Regions from separate parts of the Homo sapiens genome. Here all the other regions are linked to region 3. Evidence: promoter capture Hi-C in 16 types of primary human blood cells and fetal thymus (Javierre and others, 2016). All regions are on one chromosome and are shown on one strand. The core of a region is centred on a gene start or on the middle of the fragment in contact, and the rest is flanking DNA. Distances in the headings are between cores, read along the strand shown. Region 1 overlaps LOC105375448 (a long non-coding RNA gene). Region 2 overlaps LOC105375448 (a long non-coding RNA gene). Region 3 holds the start of LRRN3 (leucine rich repeat neuronal 3). Region 4 holds the start of PNPLA8 (patatin like domain 8, phospholipase A2). Region 5 overlaps LOC105375448 (a long non-coding RNA gene). Region 6 has its middle 7.6 kb from the start of DNAJB9.

Region 1 (3,113 bases), core at 266-2,765, 2.5 Mb after region 3:
TTTAAATCTAAGTTATCCTGGGGTAGGAGAAGAGGCACATAGCCAATCCAGAGAGGGTGATGTTGCACAAAATATTTGGACTTGCTTGCACCATATCCTGTAAGTTTCTAAACACAAAAATTCACTCCAAGTGAAGCTTGGTGAATAAAGTGCCCCAGCAAGGCAACACCATCTGTAACAAAAATGTAATTCTAAAGTGATAAGGAGACGCAGATGAAAAACTAACTCTGAGGCAATTCCAAATGAGGAGTTTCAAAAACATTTTGAGAAATGGTAGAGTATTTCAAATTAGTTCATAGCTTCTCAAGGTGACTCCTTGAAATAGCAACCCTGACCTGAATGGTTGCATCTATGTTTATTTTTTTAATCACATTTATTTTCATTTCTCTTATATAATTAAAATTAATCCTGATTTCAAACATCAATTTAGATATTCTAATCACTGTTTATGCTTGAAAGCACCCTGATATGTCATAAACCAAAGTTGAAAATTTTTTCTTGTTGTGCAAACTTTAGGGTTGGTGTAAGAAGGAATAAAGTTGTGTGTGTTACACATATGGTACTCCTGCAGATGGCCACGTGGAGGGCAGATTTCCATAGCCAGAATGCAGAATAGATTGTGTTTCCCATCCTAACATTTACAATAAAACACCCACATAAGTTGGTTTAAAATATTTTGGTTTCAGCATGATTAAATAATATGTTTGCAATTAATATCTATTCACTTTGCTGTGAACTCTTGGCCCCAGTGTGCATTACCAGAAACAGTAAGACACGCTCCCCAGTTCTCTGATTTCTCAAAGCAAGAGGTTTTTCTACTAGTACTGACTGCCGTAACTGTCTCAAAGAAAAAAAATATGTCCCTGGCCACAAAGTTAAATTATAGGAGAATTTTTTTTAAGTTAGGTTTGCTGATTTAAAAGGCCCTTGGTGAGCTTTCAGACCTCAATTAAGGCTGTGATTTGAGAAAAAGAAAATGAATTTTCCAAGCAATTAGGTGGTAATAGATCTAACGGCTTTGTGGGGAAAGAAATGGGTATATTTAACTTTGACAAGTAGCTGCCATGCATGTGTTATATAACCTCTTTTGATAAGTTTTTTTGCTCCATAGACCAAATACCTTTTTTAATTATCTGAAAACGTCTTTCACAGGGAATTATAAAGAGTAACAACCACAAAGCAGACAGGCATCCTGCCCTACTGAGTCAATAGCATTCACTTTTCTAAAAACATCTCATGTTAATTTCATAATACTCATTTTAAAAGGTCTAAAAATATGTGCTTACTGATAAACCATATGGTCTCAGAAGGATATTTCACAAGAAAATGTGTCAGCTTTCATAAGCTTCCACAGGGGACCCTTTTCCTTTTGTAAGAAAAAAAACTGACATTGAAAACACAGTGGAATTTGAACATGAAAAGACTTTTTAGCAGCGTGAGAAGGTAATAGAACCCAACAAAATCAGTATATTCCATATTAAAGTAAGGCCCTGTCTTCAGCTCATTTGTGGGACAAAAGAACATACCATTGGTTACAGTGATGTAGCACAGGTATTCAAAATAAATGGAGGTGTAGATGCTTCACTGATTTGTTATTAAAGGATAGGCTAAGACTGATTCATCTCTAAAAACAGAGCTGCTTTTCTATGGCTAATTCCATAGGTAAAAAACCCTTTAAAGCTTTTTTGTTCATAGTGTGCTATTTCCTTGATTATTTAACTCTACTTTTTTCTTTGCCAATTCTTCAGAAAACCAAAATGTGTTCTACAAGATCTTACAAGGGAGGAAATTCTCCACCCAGCTCCTGTGTATGAGCAGGAAATAAATTCTCTGAGTTTTTGTTGCTTTCCTCTTTCAGGCCCCAGAAGGCTAACCTCTAACCTACAGGACAACAAAAATCCTTGGCTTTTGGGTGACAGTAAATATTTCAAGCTAACGACTGAATGAGAGTTCCCTAAAAGACGGCATACACAATTAAAACAAGTCACGGTCACCCTAAAACATGACTGGAAACAAAAGAACTTGAATATCCACATTGCTGGCATTAGAATCATTGTCCATGGCATGAATTCTGCAGGCATACCTTCAATTAATCAATGAGTGATGAATAGAGTAGTAGTAGCCAAGCGAGTCCCACCAATGATGAATATGGATTTCTAAAGCCAAATCATTCAGGAGGTGATCTATAGTGTTTATTCAGATGACAAAACCAACAGGTCAGTTCCACTGGTAACCTGATCTCTTACCTGGTAAGATCTGAAGGGTGTTTGCTATTGTCTGAGATTGAAGAGCAATGATACTGAAGCAGCTCTCCTAACCCCCGGGAACCTTCTGCTTCCAGGGGTGGAACTGAGGGAGAGAAGCAGAGGGTACACTCAGATTGAAGAAAGCTAGGACAGGACATTGTGCCACAGAATTAAGCAGAAGACAGCAACACCAGCTCACACAGCCACAGTAACGTAAGGTTGAGCTAAAAGCAAAAACACCCTAAAAAATAATAATAATAATAATAACAACTGGCATGTAATAAGCATGAACATTTATCAGAAATTGTGCTTATCTCAGTGAATATTGACAAGAACCTTCTGAGATGGGTTCTATCCCTCCTTTAGGGAGAAGGAAACTGAGACTCAGAGAGCAAGCAATAGAACAGGAATTAAACCCAGGCAACCTGACTTCAGAGTCCATGCTTTTGCCAGAAACTCTAGAAAGCACCAACTAGAAGTGAGGAAATAGCCAAAATGAGAATGAAACTGAAATGAATCAGGGAAGCAGTGAGGGAGGTACAAATGGAGTCAGATGGGCAAACATTCAAGGGGCAGAGCCCAAAGCCAGGATGAGCAGGTGGCTGTGTGATGCGACTTTTAGAGCCTGTGCTCGGCCTCATCCAGAACCTATGATCTGTTTATCTTTAAGCATTTACAGTTATAAGCTACCATCAGACAGGTACAACTAGACATAGCCATCTTAGTAAGTATAGATAATTCAAATGCAAATTCTGCAAGTCAAATAAAATTCTTTCATTTCTCCTCACTTTTTTTTTATCTTTTTCTCTCCACGCTTTTAGAAAAAAAATTATTTTGTAATCTATTTGAAAATCTCACCTGAAAAGA
Region 2 (3,342 bases), core at 697-3,196, 2.5 Mb after region 3:
AGACCATGAATTTTCTGCAATTAATAATAAATGTCATAAGAAAGTGATTATTGCAGCAAATACCAAATGAGGACACAAAACAACAATGGAACACAAAAAAGAGGGTCAGGCAGAATTTGGATAAGGAAAGGAAAACTTGACAGAGATAACACTTATAACCAAATCTAGCTAAGTTGTTTGTTAATTCATTAATGCATAACAATGGAAATTAATATCAGCTTACATCAAGCCATTATACTAAACAGCACAATGAAATTAAATGTTATATTAACTGTAGGATGTCATTGAGGACGTCAATCACTACATCAAAAATGGTCCTATTGTCGCAGAATCAGAAATAGTTGTACTTTTCCTAAACAGTCTGTTTGTGGGTGCCTTAAGGGCCCTGTGAATATAATGGTTGTGTTTTCTTCTTCATGATGGCTGCTAGAGAAAACTTGTTGTCTACCTCTTGCAAGGATCTATGATATCATAATTAGCATCTGTATATTCTGGAATTCCTCTACTTCTATTATACATATTCCCTTTGTCCAAATTCCCCAATTATTTTTAATTTATTCCAACATGATGTAATGTATGTATTTTTGCAAACCATCTTTTAATAATAATATGAGGTAAAAACAAATTTTTGAATGTCATAAGCAAGAAATTCTCAGGATGCGATACAAAAAATGAAATAGATGCTATGTGGATGGCTAGGTCTTGTTAACATAGCTTTCAGATTTGTAAGCGTTTGTTTTTGTTTTTTTTTTCTTTCTGTTGCTGGTCTTGTGTCTCATCTCACCTATACCACAATTCAGGGCACATAGCACAGTATTACATGGTATGGCTCTTGTATTTGTTAAGGAAAAGAGAAAGCAGGAGAAGCAAGAAGGAAAGGAAAGTCCTGGGTCCCACCGTTTCTGCCCTTACATCAGAAGGATGCATACTTAGGCCATGGCCCTGCTGGGCCCACAGCTGGGATTTGCATTCCCATGGGCCTTGCAACATGTTATTCTGTCTTCTTTATTGAGCCAACTGAGAAAATAGCCTTGTCACTGGGAAGTACACAGGCGGCTTGCCCCAGGTACTCTGTTTTGGGGAGCCAGCCCTTACAGTGTTTGTCTGGAAACACCAACTGCCCAGCTTCTGGAGACTTTGGAGCACATGAGATGTTGCCATCCACCTGCTGGAGAGAAGTACCTGGTCCCATGGAAAGTTATGTTTGGTACAGCCTCACTCCCACCCCACACTGGGAAAAGGGTTCTTCCAGGACGTGGCTGGTTTGTTTTCCAGGCCATCCTGAATGAGAAACCAACCCTGACAGCACCTTGAAGGGCCACTTGCAGCCACTTCTGCTTGTTGACCCCGTCATCTGTGGGTAAATGTTTAACCACAGGTCTCCAGTGGAGAGAACAGGAAAGCTCAGGTTTGTAGTGTTTGCCAGTTTCCATCCTGTTTCAAGCTACTAAGGTAACATCACTGCACACCCATTTGGAAGGAGCTATGCAGCCTCCCACCATTAGGTTTATTCCCTTTGGGCAGACATAGCAAATGTAAACAACTCCAAGATTACTAATAATCATGAAATGGAGTGCAGTAATTAGAAAATGATATGTTCTGAGTAATAACCTGTGTTTTAAATTTAATTTTTTAATTGTAAGTTTATATCATTTAGCTTTTAATAATAGTTGTGCTTAATATTAGGCTCATAAAATTCATAAAAATGTAACAATTGGCTCTCACAAGCCAGTGCAAACTGATTCCAACAGAACACATTTTGGTTTGCTGTTGTTTAAGCTTTGTTGAGATGCAATTGATATACAAAAATTGCACATATTTATTGTATACAATTTAATTAGTTTGGACATACACATATACCTGTGATGTCATCACACAATCAAGGTACTAAACATATATGTCACCTCCAAAATGATATTGTGTTCTTTTGTGTGCAGGTGTGTGTGTGTGTGTGTGTGTGTGTGTTGGTAAAATTTAACATAAGATCCATTGTCTTAGCATATTTTGAAGTGCACAATATTGTTCATTGTAGGTATCATGTTGTACAGCAGATCTCTACAACTTAATCATCCTGTATAACTGAAATTCACCACACCTTGTTTCATAAAGCTTCCCTAAAAGTTCATGGATCGCTTGGTGCCTCTTGGCAATTTTTTAAATCTTTTTTTTTTTTTTATTTCTTACAAGGATTCAGGACAGAAGGAAGACATCAATACCAGATTGCAAGGAATGGCATGCATTACCTTTATTGTTGATGACATTTAACACAGAAAACCTGGGAGAGTTCCACAAATTTTCATGCAAAGCAACTGAAATATAAATATAAGATGATCTTATGTCACTATTTTCTGAAAAGCCTGGAAAGAAACAGCTACGGAAGTTGAAGAAAAATGACAATCATATTTTTTATTCCCTAAAATACAGATTTAAATATGTGTTAATTACTTCTGCAGTTAATAATAAGAACGATTATTTCTGGACCTCGTAGTCTAGCAAGAAGTCTTCACTAATTCACAATAAGAAGTCATCAAATGAGTGCTTTTGTTGAAGCGAGCAACTAATATTTTAATAGTATTTTGTAGCCTACATATACTCTCCTATTTACCCTTCCCTAAAAACCTGAGAAGGTGGTCTTATTTTCATCTGCATTGTGTCCATTAAGAAATAGAGGCATCTGGGCAGGGCACGGTGGCTTACGCCTGTAATCCCAGCACTTTGGGAGACTGAGGAGGGTGGATCACGAGGTCAAGAGATCGAGACCATCCTGGCCAAGTGGTGAAACCCCATCTCTACTAAAAATACAAAAACTAGCCAGGTGTGGTAGCATGCACCCGTAGTCCCAGTAACTTGGGAGGCTGAGGCAGGAGAATCGCTTGAACCCAGGAGGTGGAGGTTGCAGTGAGCCAAGATTGTGCCACTGCACTCCAGCCTGGCAACAGAATAAGACTTGGTCTCAAAAAAAAAGAAATAGAGGCATCTTCAGTGATTTGCCCAAGACCACACAATACAGTAAGTAGAAAAGATAAATCTCTTCTCCTTCCTGTCTTTCTTCTTTCCTTTGTTCCTTTACAAAGATTTAGGGGGTAGTGTATTAGTCTGTTAGTGCTGCCATAACAAAATACCACGGACTGGGTGGCTTAAACAACAGAAATTTATTTTCTCACAGTTGTGAAGGCTAGGAGAAGTCCAAGATCAAGATGCTTTGGGGTTGGTTTCTGTTGAGGCTTCTCTTCCTGGCTTATAGACACTGCCTTATTGCTGTATCCTCACATGGTCATTCTTTTGTGCATGTGTGGATAGAGAGAGAGAGAGAGAGAGAGAGGGAGATCTGATCTCTCTTCT
Region 3 (3,373 bases), core at 35-2,534:
GAATAAATTAGAGCCGAATTAAGCCATCCAGCTCAACAACAGCAAAGGGAATATAGCAGTTGGTTAGAACAAACAATTTTCTTAAATAGGAAATGTACTTTAAAGCCATCCTGCTGTGATCCTGTTAATTACCAAAGATTAGAACTCTTCTGGTTCATGGGATCCTTTCACCTAGTGTGTGGCAGTTCCAGCTGCATTAGCAATCAGACATTTGCACTGTCCCTTCAGACCAGCGAGGGGATGTTATTAAAGGGAAGTCATTTACCCCAGTCCGTAAGATGTAGCCTGGCAGAAATTCAATAACTGTTTGTGATATGCTCATTCTGCTACTCTGCTTAGTGGTTTAGCTCTTAACATACAACAGCATTTGCCTTAATTTGCATCCACTGGATGAGACAAAATAAAAATGCCCCATTTGGTGGGTTGATTTCAAAACAGAGAATAATGTGTGATCTGCTTTTCACTACAAATAATGTGAAGAAAAAGGAAAATTGCACCCCATCACCCGTGACTCTCCTCTCCTCTCTGTCTCCTCTCTGTCTTCTCTCTTCCCCATCTCCTTCTCTCTCCCTCTCCTCCTCTCTTCTCCCCCACTGTTCCCTTCTCTTCTGTCTCCCTCCTTTTTCTCCTCCCCCCAACACTGCTTTTTCTCTCCCACTCACATCCTCTAATGGGCATTCAAGCTAGTAAAATGCATGTTGGAGAATCTCACAAACACAGCTAGGCACACACAGAGCCAGCTGGGTTTTGCATGTGAATTTCTTCTCAAAAGTGCAATAAAAGAAAAATGCTCTTAGAATTCAGACAAGAAGAAGACATCAAAGGAGGATTTAGGTGTAAAAACATGATCATCGAAGAGACAAGAAATAGAACGTATTTTAAAATATATGTGTATTTTAAACTTACCTTGAAAAGCAGTTTCAGTGCTAGCCCACCTCCGATGTCCTTGCGTGCTGGATTCCTCAGTTCCTTGGTTGAGATAATCACATGGTTGTGTTCTTGCCCGGTATAAATAGGTGCATTTGTGTGTCTGTGTAACAAAGTGTACAAAATATATACTATAGATATGCACACATGCACGCAATCTTATCTCTCTATTTTAAAATATAAAGGAAGGCAGGAGGCTGCAGCCGGGATTCCTTCTTTTTCCTGGAACTCTTTTTCTCAGTCGGCAGGCTGAGGCTCTCAATCCAGTGAAGAGAGATCCTGTGAGCTGGCTTTATTTTTCCTTGTTTCCATGGTGGTTAGTGGTGCATCGTTCACCCGATCAGTTGTCACACTGACATGGTGCTGCCTGCTCAGCGGTCATTAATAACTGAACACCCTCCACTCCCCAGAGAGGAGCCAATCGCTTCAGACAGCCAAGATGTAGCACTCGCAGCTGCTCCAGTCTGGTTGGCTGAAACAAACTGTCTGTTCTATGACACTGCTGCTTAGGATACAAATAAATGAAACAGGCTTGCATGTTTTCCTAGGTATCATTTTCCTTCTTTTTTTTCCTTTCTGAGGGAATGTTGGGAATTTTTGACAAGTTTTCTCAATTTTAGGTTATCAGTCATTCAGAGAAATATGTTTTCAGTCTGCAAATAGAGAGGACACACTACTGATAAGGATTTCCTAAATATTAAAAACACCTGGTAGAGACTCAAACCTCCAACTCCGTCTCTGAAGTTCAGCAATGACTGCATTATTTAAGAAGAGAAGCTTGCAACTGTTTTGAGTGGCATTTGGTTCTCTATAGATCCTACTTAATTTAGCATATGTGCTTGGTGTTCAATAACACTTTTTTTTTTTTTTTTTTAGCAATGACATTTCTTGTCTGGATTGACCAGATTTTTAAAATAAAGCATATATTTGCCTCTCTGTAATTCACAACATTGGCATTTGAGGGGGTACTTTTTAAAAATATGTATTTCTAATTATACTCACTGACTTCTCTTTATATGATGTAATAAATCTAGGAGCTACATATGAATGGGTACATGTGTAGGTGTGTTTGTGTATCTGTGAGTGTGTGTGTGTATTTAGGATGTATTTTTTACCACTCTGGGGAAATATTTCGATTGTAATAAGTTAAATTATTTAAAAGACTATCTTTATTCTTAGGCCTATTAACTCTGAAAGGATATTTCCCAGGAAAATATACTATATAAGCCATACATGTAAAACATTTTTATTAATTACCAGAAATTTGGAAAACACAGAAACACATAGCAGTGCATATTTCTGAAAGAACATACATGAAAAATCAAAAAGCAGTTTTAAAAATGCATGTTTTACAACCTTAATTAGTATACTAGAGAAACATCTTGTTGAGGAGAATGGAACATGAGGATTAATATATCAACAGGTCAAAAGCAGGCTAGTCATGACTCCAACCCCAGTTTTGAGAGACTACCCTCTAGTGGAGTAAAGAGAAATGGCACTTATTAGATTTACTTAGGAAAAAAAAAACAAAACCTTCACATCTAATTGCTCCTTAAGTGCTTATTGACATGACATAGAACAATAGTTTGCAGTTATTATAATAATAATAATACCAGGAAAAATTTTAAACAGTAGGCTTGTCTTTAAATACTGAATATTTTCACTCTGTAGTTTTCTAGAAACAGTTCCCAAATGTTTTTTTCTATAAGAATTTATTCAAATGAATCAAAATAAGTTCAAGATAAAAGTAGCATCTCATTTAACCTAATACTTATTTCAGAATATTATTGTAAGGTTTTATTATTTACTGGATACTCTAGTATTTACTCAGAAAGCACTGAGTCAGTTCTGTATGTTAGGGATCATGGTTGAGTGTTGGGATGTTGTGTTAGAGTATATTTACATATAATTTAATGTACTTTTAATAATAGTAATAATCATCCTTCTTACCCCTTAATTTTAATCTAGCAAATCTTAGTTTCTTTAATATTCCAAATTATTTCAGTATCTGCAGGATTTATTTCCACATATGGAAGAATAATCTTAAAATTGTGATAATTATTTGTAAAAAGAGAATTTTTATTTATGCCATGGTATCTTAAGTGATTAATTTTCATTGATTGGTATTGACTGTATAATTGACAAGTCCAGTAATCAAACCAATTATAATGCACTCCCATAATGAAGGTAAGTTGTGATAGTCAGATACATGATTAAACTCCTCTCTTGGTTTTTAAATGAAACTGCAGTCATACCTAATATCTTAAATTTCAGTCTGTTTCAGAAATCAAGAAAAAATCTTTTCAGTTTTGATTCAGTTAGAATTGTTAAAGGTAGCCATTTATATGTTATCTTACATTATTTCATAGGAAGTTGTTTTAACTAAATGATCACTCTTTTGAAAGTGGGAGATCAGAGTGCTCTTCCTGCAATTGTCCTTTTAATG
Region 4 (3,071 bases), core at 353-2,852, 2.6 Mb after region 3:
ACTTTACAATAACCTTACAGGGGGCTAAAGCATACATACCCATGGGTAGTGGGTAAGCCTTGAGAGTACAGTATAAGTCTTGATAACATTTTGAGGTTGATAACTAGTTGAAACTGATCTGTTTTCCCGACCTCAACGTAATTGCAAGGTCACTTCAAGAGGGTAAGGGGCTATTGCAACTACCCAAATTCGCTATTGTAGTATAAAAGCTTTAATTAACAGCATGTATAGGAATGCAAAGCTATGTTCTAATGAAACTTTAAAAAGCAGACACAAATATGAATGTCATATAATTGTCATCTGTCGCAAAACTTTTTTTTTAACCTTTGAAAAATGTGAAACCCATTTTTAGCTCCTAGTACAGCAGAACCTGCGGTGGGCTGGATTTGCCCTGAGGGCTGTAGTTTGCCCCTGTGGTACGTATGAAATGCCACAATTTTAAAAAGATGTGTTACGTGTGGGACCATTTGTGGGGCGGTTTATGCTAACTTCCAATACAGTAATATATGTCAACTCGCTTTTGAGTGACATTTAGTCTGGGTGGCCATGCCCAGGAATGGATATAGAGAAAGGGGCGCGGCCGCGCCGGGCACCACCCTCCAAGAGACTGGTATCGCAGCCCCCAGCTCCAAGGAACTCAGCGCAGGCAGGGGCTTCAGGGACGCGGAGAGGGAGGCTTATCTCTGCTGAAAGGGAATAGCGGCCCGCAAACAAGCAAACCAGGACACTGCTCCGAGGTCCCGCCCAGGAAGGCAAAACGAAGTCCCACCGCTCTCACACCCGGCAACCAACCAAGGCACAGCACGCCCCACCAGCAAGCCACGCCTCGCGCATCACGCACGCACGCACGCACGCACACACGTCTGTCGCGGCTTCCCGCCTTGCGCTCCGTCATGCTCTATTGCGCATATCTCGGGGCGGGGGAGGAACGGAGATTGACAAGGAGGCAGAGGCCTGAGCGAGGCGGAAAATCCTCACCCCGGCCCGCGGGTAGACCCAAACTTCTAGCGCGTCACTTCCGCTGGGGGCGGAGCGGGGCGGGGCTGAGTGGGTGGCGACCTAGCTGCTGCGCCAGTGTTTGTGTTGGAAGCTCAGCTGATGCAGGCCGGTTGGAGTGGACGTCATTGCCGGGAACGAGCGAGTCGCCGCTGCAGCCCTAGTGACTGCGGCCTGCATCCCGGTAAGTAGCCGCGAGGGGACAGGGGCGGGACGATAGGAGGCTGGTTGATCGTTCTGGACCCTTGTCCGGCGCTCCGGGTCGTCCTTTCTTTCTTTGGAGGGCACTTCCCGAGCGAGAGGGTGGGGACACGCCAGGCTTTGGGGAGGAGCTGGCGCTGGAAGGAGCCCGCAGGTCCTGGAGCTCATTGGTACTCGGCGCCCTCCGCCCCCGTGGGCTTTGCTGCCCCAGAAGCGCAAACCGTATTTGGTTTCGCAGGTCCCGCCCTGCTCCCCCTGTCCCATCCCCACGACTCCCTCCTCAATTTTCCAGAGTCTGTCTGCCTTCCCCTGGACTGTAGTGTTCTCCAGTAGTTAACTGGTCACTCTCAGGAGGGTTTCCCTAGTCTACATCATTCTCGACTGTCAGTGTGCACCTGGTGATTCTACTGCCTGATATTTTTTGTCAGTAATCTCTTTCTGACCCCATCCACATTTGATTCTATCCTTGACCGCTGTTGCTTAAGTGGATAAGGTGTATGAATCACTGTGTTGCAGTGCTTCCTATCCCTGTGTCATTTCTATCATTGTGCTGGAAGGAACCTGCTTTCCACGCCTAATACAATGATAACTTTAAAATGGTGACTCATAGGAAAAACTCAGGAGAGTTGTGACATAAGGGACTATCATATAATCCTGCTTAAAATACTGTTTTCAATTCCAAAACAGTTGTATCCTGGTTCTGCAGTCCTAATTTCTGAGAGTTCAAAAATGACAAATGTTTCAGTGTATTAAGAAAATGCTGTTAAACAGTGAAACATTAAGAGCTTATGCCTTGTGAGGCAGTTGTATCAAGCCCATTTTAGCTATTTTGTTAAATTGCTTATGCAAATTAGTTGTCCTTTCAATATAAGAACATGTTTTTATTTCGTAATTATAATCAACTTTTTCTTAATGTTGATCTCTTTTTTTATTTCTATATCAGGACTAAATTAAAATCTTGTAAACGCCCTTTTAATGAGTGATGTTGAATGAAAGGGCCAGTTTCACTAGTTTAGCTATTCACTTGTTTCACATGCAAAGTTGTTACAAGAACAGCCTGTACTTTGAGTTGTTTTTTTTTACCCCAGTTAGAGGGGTTGTGCTGAAGCTGCATATTGCTTCACTCATGGAATATATATTTGTAAAAAGGTCAGAGTTAGAATGCTGAGCCATAGACACCTTCCTGTCCTGCCATTTTTTGTTGTTGTTGGGAGTCTCTCTCTGTCGCCCAGGCTGGAGTGCCTTGGTGCGATCTCGACTCACTGCAAGGTTCAAACGATTCTCTTGCTTCAGCCTCCCGAGTAGCTGGGATTTACAGGCGTGCGCAACCACACCCGGCTAATTTTTTTAAGTAGAGACGGGTTTCCCCATGTTGGCCAGGCTGCTCTCAAACTCCTGGCCTCAGGTGATCCGCCCGCCTCGGCCTCCCAAAGTGCTGGGATTTCAGGCCTGAGCCACCGCACCTGGCCAGTCATTTCTTAGTTCTTATCTTTCTCTGCAGTACTCAAGTATTTTATTCTGTTCATTATCCATTACTTGAAAAAATTTGGTCCTGTCTTGGTTTTCAGTGTCCTGATTTTTTCAGGGTGGCTTTTCTCCTGTTTTGTTTCCTTTAGAGTCTTTTCTTCCTCTTCCTAGCTCTGGGTGGCACTCAAGGCTCTACCCCTGTCGCTCTCCCTAAACCAGAGTTTCGTGTTTGAAACCCAAATATACTTCAGTGGGCATGTGAATATCCTGAAATATTATGGAAAATATAGTTTGTATTGCAAATACACATTTTTCAAGGAAGAAAAGCTTTACTCAGGTTGCCTGATCCCAAAATAGTCATGTATTATTACTGTAAACTATCATCTGGTAAATACGTCTAATGTTGT
Region 5 (3,010 bases), core at 190-2,689, 2.5 Mb after region 3:
ACTACAAAAATTAGCTGGGTGTGGTTATTGTGCCTGTAATCCCAGCTACTCGGGAGGCTGAGGCAGGGGAATCACCTAAACCCAGGAGGTGGAGGTTGCAGTGAACCGAGTTTGTGCCACTGCACTCCAGCCTGGGCAACCGAGTAAGACGCCATCTCAAAAAAAAAAAAAAAAATTAAATGCCTGGCCAACTGTGAAGAGATGATTCAACCCATCAGCAGAACAAACATTCACTTGGATGATAGAAATTTGAAATTTTATAAAAGTCCATCTTACCCAAAAATCACTTCCACCAGTATCCTGCAGGTACCCAAAATTCCCAGAATTAGAGATTTACCCCACAACAGATTTTGAGCAGACCGTATATATTGTATAATCCCATTTTTGTTGTTTTTTAAAGGAGTATATATTTTCATGTCTGTTTATTATTTATTCATCTTACTATACATATGTTTGAAACTGACCCAAATCAATTTGTGCACAATCCTCAGATTGTTCTTGATAGACAGCTGTTGCTTCTAACAATTAGAAGTGGGGAATAGTTATGATATCTTCTCCTACAGCTCCTCACGAGGCAGTGCAATGAAAGCAGGTCTCAGATGGACTTTTGCTGAGGGAACAAAAATTTTATTAGCAGGCAGGCACAAACATAGTCACCATCTCCCCTTGTAAGACCAAGTGCCAGTTCTCTGTTCCTTTAGACACTCCAACTGACCTTGTATTAAAGGTTTATCAGAGGCAGATGTGACAATAGTCTACCTACAGTACTCAGTAAACCTAGTTGGAAGTAAATGATAAAATTCTCCCTTTTAAATGCACAGAGGACAGAATGGACTCTTAGACCTAACATGCCATGCAAAGTGTATAGAATTGGACTTAACTAGACTCTTGTTCCCTATTCACCAAGGACAGGAGTACCTATATAATATTTCTAGCCAATTCACACATCTTAATCTCTAGTAATTTTACTAAGGAAAAAATATCTCTAATATCCATTATACTAAATAAATTTTAAAAATAACTGGAAAGCTTGCAGTGTGTTCTAGGTTCTTCTAGAGTGTGGCCTTCTAATTAGTTTTTTATTGGTAACTAATCATCTCTGGAGTATTTGCCTTGACTAGGGCATGTCAAAGGTTAACTAATCAGCCCTAAGGTATTGATTAAAGCTGAAATACAGATACTTAAGTATTTTAGAATAAATTATAGACCATATAATGATATGCATTTTTCAAAGTCTGAGAGAATAACTAGCTAATTATTATTAGTGATTATCTCTGAAAGAATGGGATTAAGAAGACAGAACATTTTTCTTGGCACTCTTTGGTGTTATTTGAAGAAAAAAAGCAAATATTACCTTTGTGATATAAACATACTAATAAAAGTTGTTAAAGGCTAAGATCAATAATAAATGGAGATTTATTTGTTTGAATTAAAGGTTTACCTCTGCCCACCTTCAGAAGTACACAGCAGTGTTCCAGGTGTGTTGAAAAAGCACAGGATGAATAAGGCATGTCTTTCTACAACGTGAATTTTGCTAGAAATTTTAGAAGGGTGAGGCCAAGTAATTTAAAGGGTAGGCAATTTAAAACAGATTTTAAGAACTTTCCCTCAAGACTTCCTTCTCCCAAGGCTTCTTTCCCCCAGACTTACTCTCTTACCTCCTGATATGGCTGTGTCAGATGTTGGCTGTGTCCCCACCCAAAATCTCATCTTGAATTATAATACCCATAATCCTCACATGTCAAGGACAGGACCAGGTGGAGGTAATTGGATCATGGCGGCAGTTTCCCCTTTGCTGTTCTTGTGATATTAAGTGAGTCTCACGAGACCTGATGGTTTTATAAGCTTCTGGCATTTCCCCTGCTTGCACCCATTCTCTCTCCTGCCACCCTGTGAAGAGGTGCCTTCCGCCGTTATTGTAAGTTTCCTAAGACCTCCCAAGCCATGCAGAACTGTGAGTCAATTAAATCTCTTTTCTTTATAAATCACCCAGTCTCGGGTATTTCTTTATAAGCAGCATGAGAACTGACTAATACACCTTCCATCCTACCTCTCTGAGCCCCGTTAGAGATACTCATTCACTTTTTTCTATCATTAGAGGATTGCAGTGGGAATGTTTGAAGAACAATGCTCGATTTTATTATTTTCTATTAATACTTGTGAATTAGCAGACTCTCAGAAATCATTATCAATCATTTACCTACAAAGGCCAGAGAATAACTGAAAAAGATGAGTAACTGGTGGCAGTTGGTGGTTGGGGGAGTTGAGAAGGAAATGCATGAAGGAGAGGAAGAATGAATAGCCTGAAATTCAGGTAAACTGAGGAGGGGTACCCTGAACCCTGGGAACAGCCAAGCCATTAGCCCTCTGGGGACTGGAGCTCTGAAAAGGTGCGTGGAAGGAATGAAGCAGAGAAGGAGGAAGTGGAGCCAAGAGGTCAGGGAGCATTAACACCAATTAATTTTCCTTCCCAATCTTATCCCTTCCCAGCAAAAATATAGACATATGTTTAGCGGCAGTTGGGGCCATGTCAGTTATAAGATTTGCTGCCAATGATACACATCTGTCAGCTTATTTGCATCAAGCAAAAGAGCTGAAGCTACAATTTGTGTTTATGATAAATGAAGATTTGGAAGACATTTGCTTTCCCCCGTCTTTTGCTTACTTAAGCATCATGCAGATACAAAAGACACTGCCAGAATTTGCTTAGACAACACTGAACATGGGGGTAGGAGTGAGAAGGAAGGGAGAAAATCACTATGAAATATTGCCACTTTCACTGCAATTCTGGACCCATCATTTTAAATTGTGAAATGCCTGCTGCTGAATGCGAGAAGCAGGAGCCTTTCCTGATTTGAAGGCATTGGCAGGAGGCTTCATTTGTCAGGGAAGGAAAAATGCATAATTCAAAGCGAAAGTCACCTGGCCCCGATAACCTGAAACAAATGAAGCAAAACTTCATTCTTTGGTTCAACGCCAAGGAACCAATCCTGTACCTGCAGATAGGGCA
Region 6 (3,383 bases), core at 238-2,737, 2.5 Mb after region 3:
TTCTGAGGCTGTGCATCATGGCTCCAGCATCTGCTTCTGGTGAGGGCCTCAGACTGCTTCCACTCATGGCAGAAGGCAAAGGGGAACCAGCGTATACAGAGATCACATGACGAGAGAGGAACCAAGGGAGAGAAACAGGGGAGGTGTCAGGCTCTTTTTAACAACTATCTCTTGTGGGAACTAATAAAGAACTCACTCCTGAGAAAGGGCATTAAACTATTTGTGAGGGATCTACCCCTATGACCCTAACATTTCTCATTAGGCCCCACTTCCAACACTGGGGATCAAATTTCAGCATGAGGTTTAGAGTGGACAAACATCCAAACCCTAGTAGACTATAAGATGATTTCCCATTTATCTTAATAGTCACAGTTTGATTTTTCTGTCTGCAAATACTGTCTTATTGTAAAACTATAACAACAAAAATTATTAGCTTTTATTTTCTTGGGAGAATAATAAAGGAGTTTTCATTTACATAATAGTCCTCTTATAATTTGCTTGATGATGGCTATTGTAGGTATAAAATACTCCTGAGGAAACAATATTATTCAAGTAGCTACAACAGTGATCAAAAGAAGAAAAGCTTGTTGATGAAATGTAGGCTAAAGCCCATCATAATGGGCTCTGATAGGATAATCTTTTTCAATCATAGTAAATTCAAATACTTTTTTTTTAATAATGCAACACAAGTACCAACATAATATATGCTATCATCCTTGCTTTGGTATGTGTTCATGCACATGTTCCAAAGGTTTATTATATGATTTTTTTTCACTTTTATTTAGGCCAGTATTTACCAAACTTTTACTGTGGCACACTTGGATATGGTTAAGGGTACTTAGTAAAAATGTTTCCATGGTCCAATAAATTGGGCAAACAATATTTGGTATCGCTACCAAAGATTCACAACATAGATTAGTATGTTGAGAATTCTGAGCAGCTCACTGTCTCAGTCTGTTCAGACTTGCATAACAAGATGCCATAGACTGCGTGGCTTATAAAAAACAGAACTTTATTTCTCACAGTTCTAGGGGCTAAGAAGTCTAAGATGAAGGCACTAGCAGATTGACTGTCTGGTGACAGCCCTCTTCCTCATAGATCTTCTCTAACCTCACATGTAGAAAAAAATGAGTGATCTCCCTTGGGCCCTTTTTACAAGGGCACTAATCCCATTCATGAGAATTCTGCCTCCTGACCTAATTACCCAAAGGCCCTATCTACTAATACTATAGGAATATGGGGAGGACATAACCATTCAAACCCTAGCACTCACCTAAAAAGAAACATATTTAGCAAGGTTTGAATCCCAACCCAGATTTCACAAATCTATTTAAACATGATTTTTTTTTTCATAGCATACTTCTTACTCCTGCAGAACATCATTCTGAAGAATAAGCTATTGCTACATGGATTGAATCATAGCTGATACTCTACTAAAAAGTCCACGATAAAAATTATGTCCACAAATGTTTTGTCAAATGATTTAAGAGCACTTAATCTTGCTGCCATTCTGTTTTAAACCTGCTTCAATCAGGCTCACCCCTAAAACTTGATAGAAATTGGCATCCAGGTCATTTTTGATATCAGTATTGCTAAAAACAACAATGGTTAGTTCTCAATCATCGTCTTACTGGATTTAGTGGCAGTATTTTACAAAGTTGATCACTTTCTACTTCTTTCTTTTCTTTTTTTTTTTCTTGAGATAGAGTCTCACTTTGTCATCCAGGCTGGAGTGCAGTGGCATGATCTCAACTCATCGCAACCTCCACCTCCTGGATTCAGGTGATTCTCCTGCCTCAGCCTCTCAAGTAGCTGGGATTACAGGCACCTGCCACCACACCTGGCTAATTTTTGTATTTTTAGTAGAGGCAGGGTTTCATCATGTTGGCCAAGCTGGTCTCGAACTCCTGACCTCAAGCAATCCACCTGCCTCGGCCTCCCAAAGTCCTAGGTTTACAGGCGTGAGTCACCATGCCCAGCCGCTTTCTACTTCTTGATATATTTATTTCACTTCCTTCCAAGACACAAAACTCATTACTCACTGGCTGCTGCTTATCAGATGCCTGTGTAGGCTCCTCATCTTCTTTTTGCATTTTTAGAGTACCAGGGGACTCAGTTATTCAATTGCTCTTTATGTCTCTACACATTCCCTCAGTAATTTCATCTACTCTCAAAGTTTTAAGTATCACATGTTTTGACAATCCCAAAATGCATATTTCCAGCTTCACTCTCTCTCCCAAACTTCAGACATATCTCCACCCATTTACTCATCATCTCAAATTTGATATATCTCAGCTGAACTTCTGATTTTTCCTCCTAAATTTCTTTCTGCAGCCTCTCCCATCTTAAAGGCAACTCTGTATTTCCAGTTACTCAGAACATGAAGCTTAGAATCATAGTTTTCTCCTCTGTCTTTCACACCTACATCTAATCCATAAGCAAATCCTGGTAGCTGTACTTGCAGAATACATCTGGAATCCAACCACTTCCTACCACTTCCACTGCTGCCACCCTCGTGCGATGCACAAGCTGCAACAATTTCTCATCCTAGAATACTGAAATAGCCTCCAAACTCTCTCCTTGTTCCACCATTGCCCCTCTGTCTATTCTGAACAAAGCACGTGGAGTGACCCTTTTAAAATGATTTAAAGATCAAGTCATTTATCTGCTCCAAGCTCAGCCACCATATCACATTCCAAAATCAAATCCTTTACAAAGGTTGGCAAGGCCCTAGGTGATCTGTAGGGCTGCTTTCAACCCCTCTTATCTATGAATTCATCTCCTTCTACTCTGGTTTGCTCACTGGCCTCCAGTTATGCGCACTTCTTTGCCATTCCTACAACTTCCCACATATGCTTCCACCTTCAGTACAAACAATTCCCTTCAAGCATCTGCTCAAATTTACCTTCTCAATGAGGCCAACACTGACAATCCTGTCAAAAATTGCAACACATCCTCAACCTGCCTGCCCTCACAATTCTCCTCTCCTGTGCTACATTTTTTTTCCATACTTTATCAGTTTATAATTTATTCATATGGTTATTGCTTGTCTTTTTCCATAAGAATGTAATCACCCCCACCATCCTGCTCACCAGTTACGGTGTATCATAATGAGTAACAGTAAAAAGAACTGCACAATAAATTTAGGTAGCTCCACATTAGGGCAACCTCTGGAGAGAAGTTTGCGAGGGAGTTGAGTAACAAAGTTGAGATATGAGGAAGAATATGAATTTCAAAGGAAAAAGTAGGCCTGCATGGTAGGAAACACATGTACCACACATCTGTTACCTCCCATTGACTTTGGTTGTTAGATGTAAATGTAAACCAAATGTAAGTTCACATTACTTCATCTGTTCTGACACCATCATTAAAGAAATCCTGAA

What was found. The method cuts DNA at HindIII sites, captures the fragments that hold promoters and counts their contacts. A CHiCAGO score of 5 or more calls a contact.
Region 1: a fragment that was not itself captured here is called in contact with the fragment with the promoter of LRRN3 in region 3 in 6 of 17 cell types (total B cells, M0 macrophages, M2 macrophages and 3 more); the score reaches 14.4 in total B cells.
Region 2: a fragment that was not itself captured here is called in contact with the fragment with the promoter of LRRN3 in region 3 in 1 of 17 cell types (naive B cells); the score reaches 8.3 in naive B cells.
Region 4: a fragment that was not itself captured here is called in contact with the fragment with the promoter of LRRN3 in region 3 in 2 of 17 cell types (naive CD8 T cells and activated CD4 T cells); the score reaches 6.8 in naive CD8 T cells.
Region 5: a contact is called between a fragment that was not itself captured here and the fragment with the promoter of LRRN3 in region 3, in 2 of 17 cell types (total B cells and endothelial precursors). The highest score is 6.3, in total B cells.
Region 6: a contact is called between a fragment that was not itself captured here and the fragment with the promoter of LRRN3 in region 3, in 1 of 17 cell types (total B cells). The highest score is 6.0, in total B cells.

Annotation. Positions count from the first base shown.
Region 1 is chr7:108,617,414-108,620,526 of GRCh38, reverse strand. The region is part of intron 3 of LOC105375448 (a long non-coding RNA gene); the gene reads right to left. Among named protein-coding and RNA genes, the nearest start is that of DNAJB9, 49 kb to the right of the region's middle. The HindIII fragment of the contact is 335 bases long and covers 1,348-1,682 here.
Region 2 is chr7:108,635,231-108,638,572 of GRCh38, reverse strand. All of the region lies in intron 3 of LOC105375448 (a long non-coding RNA gene), which reads right to left. Among named protein-coding and RNA genes, the nearest start is that of DNAJB9, 67 kb to the right of the region's middle. The HindIII fragment of the contact is 330 bases long and covers 1,782-2,111 here.
Region 3 is chr7:111,089,038-111,092,410 of GRCh38, reverse strand. It overlaps LRRN3 (leucine rich repeat neuronal 3), which reads right to left and starts at 1,284. Exons shown (of 3, transcript NM_001099658.2): 1 at 907-1,284. All of the region lies in intron 3 of IMMP2L (inner mitochondrial membrane peptidase subunit 2), which reads left to right. The HindIII fragment of the contact is 3,940 bases long and covers 1-1,706 here.
Region 4 is chr7:108,524,138-108,527,208 of GRCh38, reverse strand. It overlaps PNPLA8 (patatin like domain 8, phospholipase A2), which reads left to right and starts at 1,074. Exons shown (of 11, transcript NM_001256007.3): 1 at 1,074-1,180. LOC124901722 (a long non-coding RNA gene) reads right to left here and starts at 734. Exons shown (of 2, transcript XR_007060473.1): 1 at 1-734. RefSeq lists enhancers at 456-795, 1,086-1,205, 977-1,937, 2,617-3,071. The HindIII fragment of the contact is 2,782 bases long and covers 212-2,993 here.
Region 5 is chr7:108,599,033-108,602,042 of GRCh38, reverse strand. It overlaps LOC105375448 (a long non-coding RNA gene), which reads right to left. Exons shown (of 4, transcript NR_187939.1): 2 at 465-610. Among named protein-coding and RNA genes, the nearest start is that of DNAJB9, 31 kb to the right of the region's middle. The HindIII fragment of the contact is 816 bases long and covers 1,032-1,847 here.
Region 6 is chr7:108,575,767-108,579,149 of GRCh38, reverse strand. No RefSeq gene overlaps it. Among named protein-coding and RNA genes, the nearest start is that of DNAJB9, 7.6 kb to the right of the region's middle. RefSeq lists an enhancer at 1-154. The HindIII fragment of the contact is 1,803 bases long and covers 586-2,388 here.